Linked DNA regions of Homo sapiens: region 2 is linked to region 1. The links are contacts of gene promoters, found by promoter capture Hi-C in human tissues and cell types (Jung and others, 2019). All regions are on one chromosome and are shown on one strand. The core of a region is centred on a gene start or on the middle of the fragment in contact, and the rest is flanking DNA. Distances in the headings are between cores, read along the strand shown.

Region 1 (7,180 bases), core at 2,681-5,180:
GCCGGGCACGGTGGCTCACACTTGTAATCCCAGCACTTTGGGAGGTGGAGGCAGGTGGATCTCAAGGTCAGGAGTTTGAGACCAGCCTGACCAACATGGGGCAACCCCCGTCTCTACTAAAAATACAAAAATTAGCTGGGTGTGGTGGCATGCACCTGTAATCCCAGCTACTCAGGAGGCTGAGGCAGGAGAATCGCTTGAACCTGGGAGGCAGAAGTTGCAGTGAGCTGAGATTGCAGCACTGCACTCTACCCTCGGTGACACAGCAAAACTCTGTCTCAAAAAAAAAAAAAAAAAGTATCAAAAGCTAGACTGATCTGGTGAACATCACCTTAATCAAAGAATCAAAGCTTAATGGCCAGGCGTGGTGGCTCACACCTGTAATCCCAGCACTTTGGGAGGCTGAGGTGGGCAGGTCACCTGAGATCAGGAGTTTGAGACCAGCCTGGCCAACATGGCGAAACCCCATCTCTACTAAAAATACAAAAAAATTAGCCAGGCATAGTGGTGCGCACCTGTAATCCCACCTACTTGGGAGGCTGAGGCAGAAGAATTGCTTGAACCTAGGAGGCAGGGAGGTTGCAGTGAGATGAGATCACACCACTGCACTCCAGCCTGGGCAACAGAGTGAGACTCAGTCTCAAAAAAAAAAAAAAAAAAAAAGCTTAATAGGACAAACTGGCCTTGTGTGCCTTCTGATGTGATGCACTGGGAAGGACACACACACGGGGAGTACATTTCTGTAGTAGTCCTCCCCAAAATGCCCAAAAAATGTTCACTCACCACCTAGTCTTGAGGAAATAGAGATCAAAGTGAGAGAGATTCTGCAAAATGATTGGTCTGGACACTTTACAGATGTCGTTGTTATAAAACATTAAGAAAAAGCTAAGAACTACCCCAGATTAAAGGAGACATAAAAAATAAATACAGGCCAGACACAGTGGCTCATGCCTTTAATCCCAGCACTTTGGGAGGCTGAGGTCGGTGGATTGCTTGAACTCAGGAATTCAAGACCAGCCTGGGCAATATAGCAAAACCCCATCTCTACTAAAAAATACAAAAAAAAAAAATTGCTGAACATGGTGGTGGACACCTGTAGTCCCAGCTATTCTGGAGGCAGTGGTCGAAGAATCGCTTGAACCCGGGTAGGTGGAGGTTGCACTGAGCTGTGATTGCCAGCAACTTCCGACTGGGAGACAGAGTGAAACTCTGTCTCCAAAAATAAAATAAAATATAAATAAATAAATAAATTCAATGAGTGATCCTGGATTAGATGCAAGATTGTGTAGGGGAGATCAGCTCTAAAGGACATTTTACCCTTGGGGAAATTTGAATATGATCCATATATTAGATGACAACGATATATCAATGTTAAATTTATCAAGTGTGATAATTGTGGTTATGTGTGGGAATTACCTTGTTCATAGCAAATACATTCTGAAGTATGTAGAGGTGAAGTGTCATGATGACAGAAAGAAAGCAAATGTGGCAAAATTGCTAAGAATTAGTGAATCCACGTGAGGGTTTGAAACTTGTCAAAATAAAAAGTTGGGGTAGGCCCGGTGCAGTGGCTCACGCCTATAATCCCAGCACTTTGGGAGTGGTCAAGGCAGGAGGATCACTTGAACCCAGGAGTTCAAGACTAACCTGGGCAACATAGTGAGACCCCCTCCAAAAACAAAAATTGGCTGGATGTGGTGGCACACACCAGTAGTTCCAGCTACTTGGAAGGCTGAGGCTGGAGTATCACTTGAGCTCAGGAGGTTGAGGCTGCAGTGAGCCAAGATTGTTCCACTGCACTCTAGCCTGAGCAACAGAGACTCTGTTAAAAAAAAAAAAATTGGGGTAGGGGGCACTTGGTAAGAGCTTGAGAAGCCAGTCTGGAGGAAACTGACCATATTGAATGTTGTATAATAAAGAATTTTGAAGGGGTGGCCTGCCCCTCCACACCTGCGGGTATTTCTCGTCAGGTGGGACGAGGGACTAAAAAAAGAAATAAGACACAGAGACAAAGTATAGAGAAAGAACACTGGGCCCAGGAGACCAGCGCTCAGCGTACGGAGGACCTGCACTGGCCCCAGTCTCTGAGTTCCCTCAGCATTTACTGATTATTATTTTCACTGTCTCAGCAAGGGGAATGCAGCAGGAGAACAGGGTGATAGCGGGGAGAAGGTCAGCAAGAAAACATGTGAGCAAAGGAATCTGTGTCACAAATAAGTTCAAGGGAAGGTACTATGCCTGGATGTGCACATAGGCCAGATATATGCTTCTCTCCACCCAAACATCTCAGTGTAGTAAAGAATAACACAGCAGTATTGCCACCAGCATATCTCGCCTCCAGCCACAGGGCGGTTTTCTCCTATCTCAGAATAGAACGAATGTACAATCGGGTATTATACTGAGACATTCCGTTCTCAGGGGCATGCAGGAGACAGAGGCCTTCCTCTTATCTCAACCGCAAGAGGCCTTCCTCTTTTACTAATCCTCCTCAGCACAGACCCTTCACGGGTGTCGGGCTGGGGGATGGTCAGGTCTTTCCCGTCCCACGAGGCCATACCTCAGGCTGTCTCAGTGGGGAGAAACCTTGGACAATACCTGGCTTTCCTGGGCAGAGGTCCCTGTGGCTTTCTGCAGTGCATTGTGCCCCTGGTTAATCGAGAATGGAGAATGGCGATGACTTTTACCAAGCATACTGCCTGTAAACATTTTGTTAACAAGGCACATCCTGCACAGCCCTAGATCCCTTAAACCTTGATTCCATACAACACATATTTCCGTGAGCACAAGGTTGGGGCTAAAGTTACATATTAACAGCATCTCAAGGCAAAACAATTGTTCAGGGTACAGATCAAAATGGAGTTTCTTATGTCTTCCTTTTCTATGTAGACACAGTAACAGTCGGATCTCTCTTTTCCCTACATATCCCCCTTTTTGACAAAACTGCCATCGTCGTTATGGCCCGTTCTTGCTGGTCGCTGTCTCTTCGGAGCTGGTGGATACACCTGTGGACTAACAACAGACAGAACAGGCATACAAGGATTAATATGAAATTTACAATAGTGGAACTTCTGATGGTTTTTAACCAAGTGACAGTGTTAAGATTTGTGAGGCCATCAGTAGCTTTCACGATTGCCTCAGTTCCCAAATTTAAATGGGCTTTCGATGCCTCAAAATTTTGTTATTTTAATTTTGAAATATCTAAAGTAAGATTATCTTCTCTTCCCTGTAGATGGCATCTAACCATGTCCCAGTGATGCTCAGACTCATTATAGGCTTGGGGTGTAATACAAAAATCTGACATATTCCAGTCACACTGTAACTGAAAAAGATATTCCAAGCTCATGAGCCTATTTCCCAGCCAAATGACAGTTTGTCTAAGATCATTAATTTCGTTTGCCAATTTTTGATTTATTTGGGTCTGAGAATTCCACAATTTTGAGGAATTCTTTCGCCAATCATTTACATATTCTGCAGTTTGAACAGAGGAGTGTAAAGCAATTCCAGCAGCTGCAGCAGTAGCTGTGACTGCAATAAGGCCCATAATCACTGCAATCAAAGTAAAAATCTTTTGGATCTAGTTAGAATTCCTTTTAATACTTCCGTTAAAATATGGAAGATGGCGAAGCCTCCCACTGTCGGTCCATGGACACAGGGATCCGCACACCTTCTCTTGCCCTCACTAGCAGAATATGGCGCTGCCAATTAAAAGTCAAATCAATGCAAGTAAACAATCTACAGTTTTCACAGGTTATAGTTTGGGAATCTGGTTTAATAACTATGTTTTCTATAACTAGCATATAAGGGGGTTTTACACAACTTTGTAAAGGAATTGTCAGATTGGAATTTAGGTTGATAGTATAATATGGCTTACGATTTCTTGTTTCTGTAGCTTGATTTCCAGACCAAATTCTAATGTAGTGCGAGGCCACAGTAAGCTTCCATAATTTTGGATGTTTAGGACCAGTAACAGGACTAACTAACTTTGGTCGAGGTGATGAAATTCCCTTTTCACCCCATTTCCAGGGATAGGGTGATTCTAGCCTTCTATAAACCTGGTCCAGCCTTTCAATTAAATCACTATCATAGGCCGGATTAATGGGCCAGATGGATGGGGCCTGTAAACATGAGTGAGTCTGGCCCATACAATTATATATAATATAATTGTATATAATATAATATAATATATAACTATTATATAATATTATAGTAGTTCCAAATTCATTGTTTTGTAATACCACCGCAGTATTAGCCACACATTCTTCCCAAACTAAGGCTTCTGGGCTTTTTGATTCTTTGGGAATTTCCTTGGGGCAAGGCTTCCCCTTAGGCCCAGATTTTAATGATCTTTGATAAGAAGCGTCCTCTAAATTATTTATCTGTGGCCCGAGTGACATTCCACTTACCATGTGATAAGTAAATTTACTGGTGGCACTGACGGTAGGTACTTCTACCAACCAGTTTTGGGTTGTAGGCATTAAACATCCTGGTGCCTTCCCTAGGCAAATAGGAGGATAATGATACCCAGTGGAAACATTTATCATCATTCCTTCTTCTTTAGGTTGGGCAGGGCAACAATCGTCTGTGGGGCCTGGTACCCATGCCCTATTATTAACATATACTTCAACAGGATTATCCATCCATGTGACTGCCCAAATTAAGGGTGGGAAAGGCACATAGGCACAGTAAGTATAATTAGTTGCAGCTGCTCCTGCAGACATGGGGAGACTTACTACCGTTGATATAATAATCAAAGCTGTAAGCAGTATATTCTCTGGAGTTCACATTACCCTTGTGTTCTTTAGGCTTTTTTTAGCTAACTGTGTCAGCTTCTTTAATTGGGCCCAAGTCGGTGGCTCCGCTTCCTTGGTGGATGGCAACTTCATCTGTTCTTCTGATATCACCATTTTATTTACCTGGCGAGTCGATGATGCTCAATTGAGGGTTTTTTGTCTCCGCAGAGGCGCTTTTCTTCGCATCTCCAAGGGGTTCATTGTAGAACTTTAAATTTCTAGTGGGTATCCAACCAGGAAGCTGATTTTCTCCTTGTGAAACACAAGCAAAGCCTCTCTCCCATGTTATCACCTTCCCTATTTCCCATGTCTTATTTTTCTTGTCTTTCCACCAAATCAGTTTTCCTTCATGTGGGCTATTCTTTTTACCAGTAAAATGTTGTTCTGCAGAAGTAGTGGTTTGATTTCTATAAATGTTTAAAAAATTTAAAGTATAGAGTGCTAGATTAAGTTGCATCTGGGGAGTGTTATACTCCTTACTGTCTTTTTTCCTTTTTTTGTTTAACCAATTGAGCTTTGAGTGTTCTATCAGTTTTTTCAATTATGGCCTGTCCTTGGGAATTATAAGGGATTCCTGTTGTATGTGTAATTTTCCACTGATTTAAGAATTTTTGAAATGTTTTACTACAGTATCCTGGCCCATTATCCGTTTTAATTTTTTCTGGAACTCCCATGACAGCAAAACAAGATAATAAATGTCTTTTAACATGGGAAGTATTTTCTCCTGTCTGGCAGTTTGCCCTTACAAAATGTGAATAAGCATCAACTGTCACATGGAGAAATGACAATTTTCCAACTGAAGGTACATGTGTGACATCCATTTGCCATAACGCATTAGGACACAGACCTCTGGGATTAACTCCTGCCTCCTGAGTGGGCAGGTGTGGAATCTGACACTGGGTGTAATGTTGTACAATATTTTTTGCCTGTTTCCATGTGATGTCAAATTTATTTTTTAGTCCTGTTGCATTTACATGAGTCAAGGCATGAAGTTCTTGTGCTTCCAGGAATGCAGATGATACTAGCAAGTCAACTTGTTCATTTGCTTTAGTTAAAGGCTCTGGTAAATTAGTATGTGCTCGAATATGAGTAACATAAAATGGGAAATTTCTTTTTCTTACAGTTTGTTGTAACATATTAAACAGCTGGTTTAACTGATCATCTATACTATATTTGATTAGGGCTGTCTCAACATCCTTTGTAGCCTGTACTACATATGCAGAATCTGATACAATGTTAATAGGCTGATTAAAATCTTGTAACACTGTAATGACAGCAACCAACTCTGCTCTTTGAGCCCAGTGATATTGAGTTTCAATGAGTCGTTCTTTTGGCCTGGTGTAAGCCGCTTTTCCATTGCTGGAACCATCAGTAAACACTGTCAGAGCATTTTCTAAAGGTTTATGTCTAGTAATTTTAGGTAAAATCCAAGTAGTCAATTTTAAAAACTGGAAGATTTTTGTTTTTGGGTAATGATTGTCAATAATTCCCACAAAATCAGCAAGACCAATCTGCCATGCACCAGAATTGATAAAGGCTTGTCTAACCTGTTCCTTGTTTAAAGGAACAATGATTTTATCTGAGTCACTTTCACACAATTTTATTATTCGTAATCTTGCCTGACCAATTAATGTAGCCATTTGATCCAAGTACAATGTAAAAGTCTTAATTGTACTATGAGGAAGGAAGAACCACTCCACAAGATCTGTATTTTGAGCAATAATGCCTGTTGGAGAATGTGCAGTAGCAAAAATCAAAAGTTGGAGTGGGGCTAAGTGATCTATTCTATTTACTTGTGCTGACCGAATTTTTTCTTCAACTAATTCAATTTCTTTAGTTGCTTCTGGAGTTAATGTTCTTTTACTATTCAATTCTGGATCCCCTCTTAAGATAGAGAACAAATTTGACATGGCATAAGTAGAGATGCCTAGAGTTGGCTGAATCCAATTAATATCTCCTAGCAATTTTTGAAAGTCATTTAATGTTTTTAATGTGTCTTTTCTTATTTCTATTTTTTATGGTTTAATTTTCGTTTCCTCCACCTGCATTTCCAAGTAATGGAAAGGAGTAGAGGTTTGAATCTTATCAGATGCTGTCGTCAGTCCTGCGTTTGCAACCTCTGTCTGCAGAAATGTGTAACAGTCAATTAATTTGTCTCTCCTTTCTGTAGCACACAAAATATCATCAACATAATGAATGATATAAGAGTCTGAAAACTGTCTCTAATTGGTTGAAGAGCTTGAGCTACAAAAGTCTGGCAAATAGTTGGACCATTAAGCATTCCCTGAGGCAACACTTTCCACTGAAACCTGGTGGCTGGTTCTTTATTATTTATGGCTGGTATAGTAAAAGCAAATTTTTCAAAATCCTGTTTTGCCAGAGGAACGGTA
Region 2 (7,180 bases), core at 207-2,706, 89 kb after region 1:
TCTCCCGAGTAGCTGGGACTACAGGCGCGCGCCACCACGCCCCGCTAATTTTTGTATTTTTCATAGAGGCATGGTTTCACCATGTTGGCCGGGATGGCCTCGATCTCTTGACTCGTGATCCGCCCACCTCGGCCTCCCAAAGTGCTGGGATTACAGGCGTGAGCCACCGCACCCTGTCTAATTTTTGTATTTTTAGTAGAAATGGGGTTTCACCACTATGGTCAGGCTGGTCTCAAACTCCTGACCTCGTGATCTGCCCACTTTGGTCTCCCAAAGTGTTGGGACTACAGGCGTGAGCCACCGAGCCTGGCCACAGGTTTATTCTTTTTGTCGTCATTGTTGCTGTTTTGAGACAGAGTCTTGCTCTGTCGCCCAGGCTGGAGTGCAGTGGTGTGATCTCGGCTCACTGCAACCTCCGTCTCCCGGGTTCAAGTGATTCTCCTGCCTCAGCCTCCCGAGTAGCTGGGATTACAGGCGTGCACCACCACACCCAGCTAATTTTTGTATTTTTAATAGAGACGGGGTTTCGCCATGTTGGCCAGGCTGGTCTCGAACCTCTGACCTCAGGTGATCCTCCTGCCTCAGCCTCCCAAAGTGTTGGGATTACAGGCGTGAGACACCGTGCCTGCCTGGTTTACATTCTCTCTTAATCCTTTGTTTATACACATCTGTGATTCACCAGACTGCGAACTCTTTGTGGGCATAAACTGAGTCTTACCCATTAGAACACGGACTTGAGCAGGGTGGCAAGTAAGGGATGGATTTCCTGAGACAGTCAACAATGAAGTTGCTTTTCCACTGCGTTCCCAACTGCTCAAATCTAGCTGGTTCCCCAATCCCAGTACACTTGCAGTAGCAACGGGGACCCTCTTCCTAAAGTTGCACCAAGCCAGGGATTCTCCACTCATTTCGCCCAGGTCCTAGCCCTGCCAGGCTTCCCCTTTGCTCCTCTGCAACCCCTGTCTAGGGAGGCGGGTGTCTTGGAAGGTCCTTGGGAGCTCCCTCCATCAATTTTGCATCTGCAATTAGGGCTACTTTACCCCAGTGAAGAAAGGTGCCCTCCGTATTAGGGCTTCCTTCCTCCAATTCCGACTGGACAGGGTAGCAGAGCGGGCAAAGTGTGAGAGCCTTTAGAAGGAAAGAGCAGGGCTCCAAGCGCCGCGAAGAATGGCCGAGGCCGACGCACAGCAGACGCTGGAGTGCAGCCCTCCTAGCCAAGCTTGGGTTTCCCCTTATCCCCGCCTCCTTCTCTAAGCTCGACCCACTTTAGGGCGGGACCACCCACTTCAGCCAATTCTGGAAGCCGAACCCTGGCGGTTTGTACTATTTCTTTCCAATAAGAAAAAAAGGAAGCAGCTTGGCTCCAATGACCAATCCGAGGAGGCGGCGCCTGGTTGTCAGGCAGTTTTGTAGGAGTTCGGGCCAATTGGAGGCGCAGGCACCGCTCGACCCGGGCGCAGCGCGCAGGCGGTGGCGAAGAGACGCCGAGCGGGCCGAGTGCGGCCGAGCAAAGCCGGAGCCGGAGCGGGGCCGCAGGAGACGGGCCGGGTCCGGACGGGCCGAGATGCCCTATAAACTGAAAAAGGAGAAGGTGAGCGTGGCCCTTTTTCCCCCACCGCCGCCTTGGAGCCTGCGCGGAGCTCTGGGAGGGGCCGGAGCCAGGCCCGGGACAGCCCCAGACTGACCCTCCCGTCCAGCCCCCGCAGGACTCCTGGGGCCAGCCCTCCGCCCCCGCGGCTGGCAGCACCCCCAGCTTGTGCCGCAGCTAGGACAGCTCCCCCACCTTGCCCCGGAGAGACTCCCCCCACATACACCTCCCTCCCTTCTTCCCTTCTCTTACCCCCGGCCCAGGGTAACCTCCTTCTTCCAGATCTGCCCCATTCCCAGGTCACTGTCCTGCTTTTTCTGTCCCCCCCATCACCCCTGGCCCCGATCCCCCTTCGGTTTGGGCAGCCCCTCATCTGAAACTGCACCTTCCTCCAGAATTGCCCCCTCGCCCCGCCCTGAGCAGCCCCTTGTCTCCTCTTCCTACCCGCCTGGGACAGCCGCCCCGCAGTCCCCTACGGCCCCTTCTCTTTCCATGCCAAGCCCCTGACCTAGAACAGCGCTGCTTTCTCTCTCCTCCACCCAAATCTGGCCTAGGCCCCTCCCTCTAGTTCTTCCTTCACACACAAACTTGTAAGCAGGACTGAGCCCTTCTGTTGATGGAACCTCACAACGTTGGTGCTGGAAGGGACCTCTGAGCGCATGCAGTGCAATCCCTAATGGTACAGATGAGGAGACTGAGGCCCCGACAGGGCAAGGGACTTGTCCAAGGTCACACAGCCTGCTGGAGGCCCAGCTGCAATATCAGGTCTCCTGACTTAAAGGCCTCTTTTGTATCAAAGCCCTCCTAACTGTCACCCAAGTGCATCCTAGACCAGTCACCTTTCCTAATCTGAGTAGGCTCCTCACCCTTATTCTTAATCCTAGGATAACCTTTGCATTTTTCCTTTTTTTTTTTCTTTTCGCACCAGTGCTGGATTTCTGCCTTTCCTAAGCTACACCATCTTCAAATTGGGAATTTGTCCTCACTGTCAGATTATTGTTCCTTCTTAGCCTGCAGGCCAGCCACCCCTGAACACCCATGTCTTTATCATGATGTCCTGACACAGGCCATTTCTTTTTTTTTTTTTTTTTTTGAGATGGAATTTTGCTCTTGTTGCCCAGGCTGGAGTGCAATGGCGCGATCTCGGCTCACCACAACCTCTGCCTTCTAGCTTCAAGCGATTCTCCTGCCTCAGCCTCCCAAGTAGCTGGAATTACAGGCATGCGCCACCACATCCGGCTAATTTTGTATTTTTAGTAGAGACGGGGTTTCTCCATGTTGATCAGGCTGGTCTTGAACTCCTGACCTCAGGTGATCTGACCCCCTCGGCCTCCCAAAGTGCTGGGATTACAGGTGTGAGCCACCGTGCCTGGCCCACAGGCCAGTTCTTAATGTTGCCTTCTTTCACCTTCCTCATCTACCTCGGTGCTGCCTTCCCCTGCTCCTCATCCGTGCCTTTTTCTACCCTCTGTTTCCTGCTGTTGCTGAGGTCTGACTCAGAGGTGTGGTTCCTTTGAGGTACAGACTCACACATAGGATGCTAGGATACCAGTTCCAGCCTCCCCCAGCTTCTCCTCTCCTGGGGCTGGCCCTTTTTGGTGGGGGTTGGCTCTGGCCTGGTGTTCTGGCCACCTGCTCGATGACCCCAGAGGTATATTGCTTTCATTTGCCCTCTGATTGGCTGGGTTACTGGGCTGCCATCTCTGACCTTTTCAATCAAACTTTTTCTCCTGGGGCTGTTCTGTATTTGCCAGGCAGCTCTGATTCTGAGTTGTCCCCTTAACCTTTCAGGGCCTGAGGTTCTAAGTACAGGGTTGGTGATGGTGTACTAGATAGTGAGCCTCCTGGGAGTAGTGAGCTGGACAGGGTTTTGTGCCCCACCCAGGCCCTGTCCTTGGGGAGTGGGCATGCGGAGGTGGTTTGGGTAGCTCAGTCGTAGACAATGCACACAGAAATCAGCCACAACAGGGGCTAAGGGAAATGGAATTCGGGGAAAGCTGGTGAGGTCCCCACCCATTTGTAATTTTTAGTCTGTTGGACTAGATACTGTCCCATCCACAGAAAGCAATAGCCTACTAGATTGTGAAGAAGACAAATTGCCAGTGAGATTTGCTAGGACCATGGGTGTAAACGTTTGGTTGGGAAAGGGTGTTGGAAGTAACGGGGTGCATGGAGCCAGGCATAACTCTCACCTCCCTATAAGGTTTTTCTGCTCTTGATTTTCAGTTGCATTTGGCCTTCTTCAATGGTTGGCAGGCTCTAAGGGGCAGGGGGGTTGCCAGTGTGACTGAGGTTTGTCTGGATGGCTGTGGGTGGAGGATCTTTATTGCTCATCTATGACCTGTCCCCTCTCTCCTGGCCATCTTTCACAGCTTCCTCTCTAAAGCCTTTCTGAGCCCTCAGTCAGGAGTGAACTCTCCTTTCTTTTCTGGATTTGCAGAACACTTAGTAGGCCACTTATGGTCCTTTTGTGTTTGGCCTTGGATGGGAATTAATTGTGGACAAGACTTTTCTTCCCCTTTGAGATAATAACTAAGTTTCATTTTGGTTTGACAACTCCTTTTCACACGGTAAGTACGTGCTTAGTGGATAGGTGCTAAGATAATCTCTTGGAGGGATTCGCATCTCTCCTCTTCCTTCATGTTCTCCTCTGGGACTTACCTCTTTTATTTTCCTGAGTAGGGTGCCCCTGCCCCCTCCGATTTTTTTCTTGTTCATAATAATAGTAATAACATTGACCAGCACTACGGTTTTCATGTGCCTTAACACTGTGCTGAGGGAAGAGGGTATTATGATTGTCATCATCTAATAGATGAGGAAACTGAGGCTCAGAGAGGCTAGTTAACTTGCCTGTGATTACACAGCCAGTAAGAGTTGGGCCCAAAACACAGGGCTGAGTCCAAACATGTTCTTTTAACCTCTGTGCTACACAGCATTTGACTACTGAGCTGGGCTGAAATGTGTGTGCTTCACCTGTTCTGCAGGAGCCAGGGAGCAAGGGTGGTAGGCCTGGTTCCTCCATGCCCACTCACACCCACACACTAAGGCAGCTGGATCTCTCTTAGGCTCATTCTTTGAAAGATACGTCTGAGGCATCATGCTGAGTGCTGTAGGGTGGGTGGAGGGGTACAAAAAAGAATAAGCAGCTTATGGTCTAATAGATTGGAGATGTATGAAGATGGGTCAGCTTTGTTCAAGGGGTTCATGTCTGGGGTGTGTGCAGACACCTCAATGTTGTGTCCTGCCTGCACCCTGCCCCCGGCCTATTTCTCTCCACCCCATGCTCTCAGCCACTGATAAGGGTCAGTGTGGCCAGCTGGGTTAGTATACAGCAGGAGCGTGCTCAGGCCAAAGAAGGAACTCCTTCCCCCTACTGCATGGAGCTGCTCTACACCACACCTTTCTTCCTCCCCACCTCCAAGAAGCCTTCCCCCTACTCCAGCCCACACAGAGCTCTCTTCTCCCTGAAATCCTTTTGCCCCCATAGTCACAATAACTCGATTTAACACTTCTCACTGAAGGGGCTTGGCTGCTATTGAATTGCACAATCTCAGAGCTGGAAGTGATTTCCAAGATCCTCCAGTCCTCATTAAAGGCTTGAATTTCTTTTGCAACATGCCTTACAGGAGGTCACCAAGCCCCTGCTTGAATGTTCTCAGGGGTTGGGGAGCTTTCGGCTTCACTAGGTGGCCAGTTTTAGTGCAATTGCTCCATGATAAAATTCTTCCTTGTTTGGAGCTTCAGGTGGCTTGCAACTTCAGCCCATTGCTCTCGTGCCTCTGGTCCATATGGACAAGTTGCATCCAAGGCATCCAAGTTGCATCTTCATTTGTTTAAGATCCATCTTGCTTCTCCATCCCTCATGACTCCTCCCTTCCATTGTTAACTATCCCAGTTCCTGCAGCTGTTGGTCTTGGGACATGCCTTTGAATCCACTCCCAGTATGGGTTGCATTTCCCTCTAAGAAACACTAGGATTTGTCATGGCCCCTCCCAAGCCTGATGCTCATGACTGAACCAGATCCTCCAGGATAGCCCTGTCAGTGCCAAGCAGTCTGCACAGGTCTTTTAACAAGATGGAAGGTCACATGAGCTGCACATGGATGATTTGTGTTGAGCTTGCAGTCAGACCTAAATCCCCAAGTCTTTTTCACATTTTCCCTATCCTGTCCCTGTGCAGTTGCTTTTTTTGGCTCGAAGCATAGGAAGAGATGCTGGGCAGGCCAGGGCTCTGAGCCAGCTGCCAGGTTCCCAAAGGAGACTTCAGACTAGTGCTCACTCTTTGTAACAGTTCAGGGTTTTACCCCCATCCCTGTCTTAGTGCTTGTCAACTGAGGTGCTCTTGGCATTTTGAGTGGGACAGTTCTGTACCTGTTAGCATTCCTGGGCCTTACTGATTAAATGCTGAGTAGCACCCTCTTGTCTGTGCGCTATTTGTGACATCCAAAAATTGCCTCCCAGTCTTTCCAGGTGGCTGTGAGGGGAGAGTGGTGACTCCCTGCACTCCAGCATGAAAGCCTCCGGCACACCTTTGACCACTTTAGCCAGAAACCAGTGAGCAGCTGTTCCCTGATGCTTTTTCTTTAAGCCTCCTCACCCTGGTTCTGACCTGAGCAAAGGCCCTCCCAGGCCCAACCTCTGCACCAGCCTGATGAGGTGAAAGATGGAGCATTCTCACGCTGAATTAGTGTGTGTTTGGGGTGACTTCCTAACCAGATTCTAAACTCTTTGGAGGGGCTGAATCTCCTTCTGCGTAGATCCCTCCACCCACCCCAGCTCCGCACAAGGTAGATTCTAATTGATTGATTCAACTGGACAGAGGATATTTGCAACAAAGATCTAAGGGAGCCAGATAAGACCTCTCCCTTCTCCTGGCATCTGCTAACTTTACTTTCATCTTTTCCTTTCAGGAGCCCCCCAAGGTTGCCAAATGCACAGCCAAGCCTAGCAGCTCGGGCAAGGATGGTGGAGGCGAGAACACTGAGGAGGTAATGAATGTAGGCGTAGCCTTAGATGTGGTGCAGGTGCCACCCGCAACTCCATGATGGCTAGTTGGGTAGGGGATCCCAGGGGGTGAGGCAGAAGGGAAGGCTTCCATATCCTGGGAGGGACCTGGACAGCCCATCCAGACTGCCCTCAGGCAGGATTTACCTTTGGTTGGTATAGACCAAATACATTCTCTAGTTCTTCAGACTCCCCAGAGATTCCTATGAAAGTTGTTTCTCTGCTTACCAACTTGGAATGTTGAGAATTCCTTTTTCTTAGGGCAAAAAGCGGGAGGTTCTGGGATCCTGGGCAAAAGGGGAAAAGTCCACAGACACTTGATGGGGTAACAAGTGACTTCAGCATGGCTCGGGTGGGGCAGGGGATTGGGAGGGGCTGGTGTCCCTGAGTTGGGCCCAGCTGGGCCCACTGCCCTTGGTCCTGATTGAATGGCAGCATGACTAAAAGACAGTCCTGAGCAGAGTTCAGCGCAGCTTAGCAATCTCGGGTTATAAAGCAATAAACAGCAAGCCGAGAGAACACCAGAAGAGGGAGAGACTTAAGGAAGTACACAGTATGTCCATGAAAGTTTGGGAGTGTGCACAGTGGG

The links. The method cuts DNA at HindIII sites, captures the fragments that hold promoters and counts their contacts. A contact is called where the count stands out against the background at its distance.
Region 2: a contact is called between the fragment with the promoter of PPP2R5D here and a fragment that was not itself captured in region 1, in 3 of the 25 tissues and cell types used here (H1 embryonic stem cells, aorta and heart right ventricle).

Annotation. Positions count from the first base shown.
Region 1 is chr6:42,891,747-42,898,926 of GRCh38, forward strand. No RefSeq gene overlaps it. Among named protein-coding and RNA genes, the nearest start is that of PEX39, 4.5 kb to the left of the region's middle. The HindIII fragment of the contact is 6,847 bases long and covers 508-7,180 here.
Region 2 is chr6:42,983,114-42,990,293 of GRCh38, forward strand. PPP2R5D (protein phosphatase 2 regulatory subunit B'delta) reads left to right here and starts at 1,457. Exons shown (of 16, transcript NM_006245.4): 1 at 1,457-1,591; 2 at 6,498-6,575. The coding sequence starts at 1,565. It overlaps LOC124900215 (a long non-coding RNA gene), which reads right to left and starts at 1,201. Exons shown (of 2, transcript XR_007059580.1): 1 at 719-1,201. RefSeq lists an enhancer at 1,236-1,355 and silencers at 1,506-1,575, 1,666-1,815, 5,458-5,752. The HindIII fragment of the contact is 19,136 bases long and covers 1-7,180 here.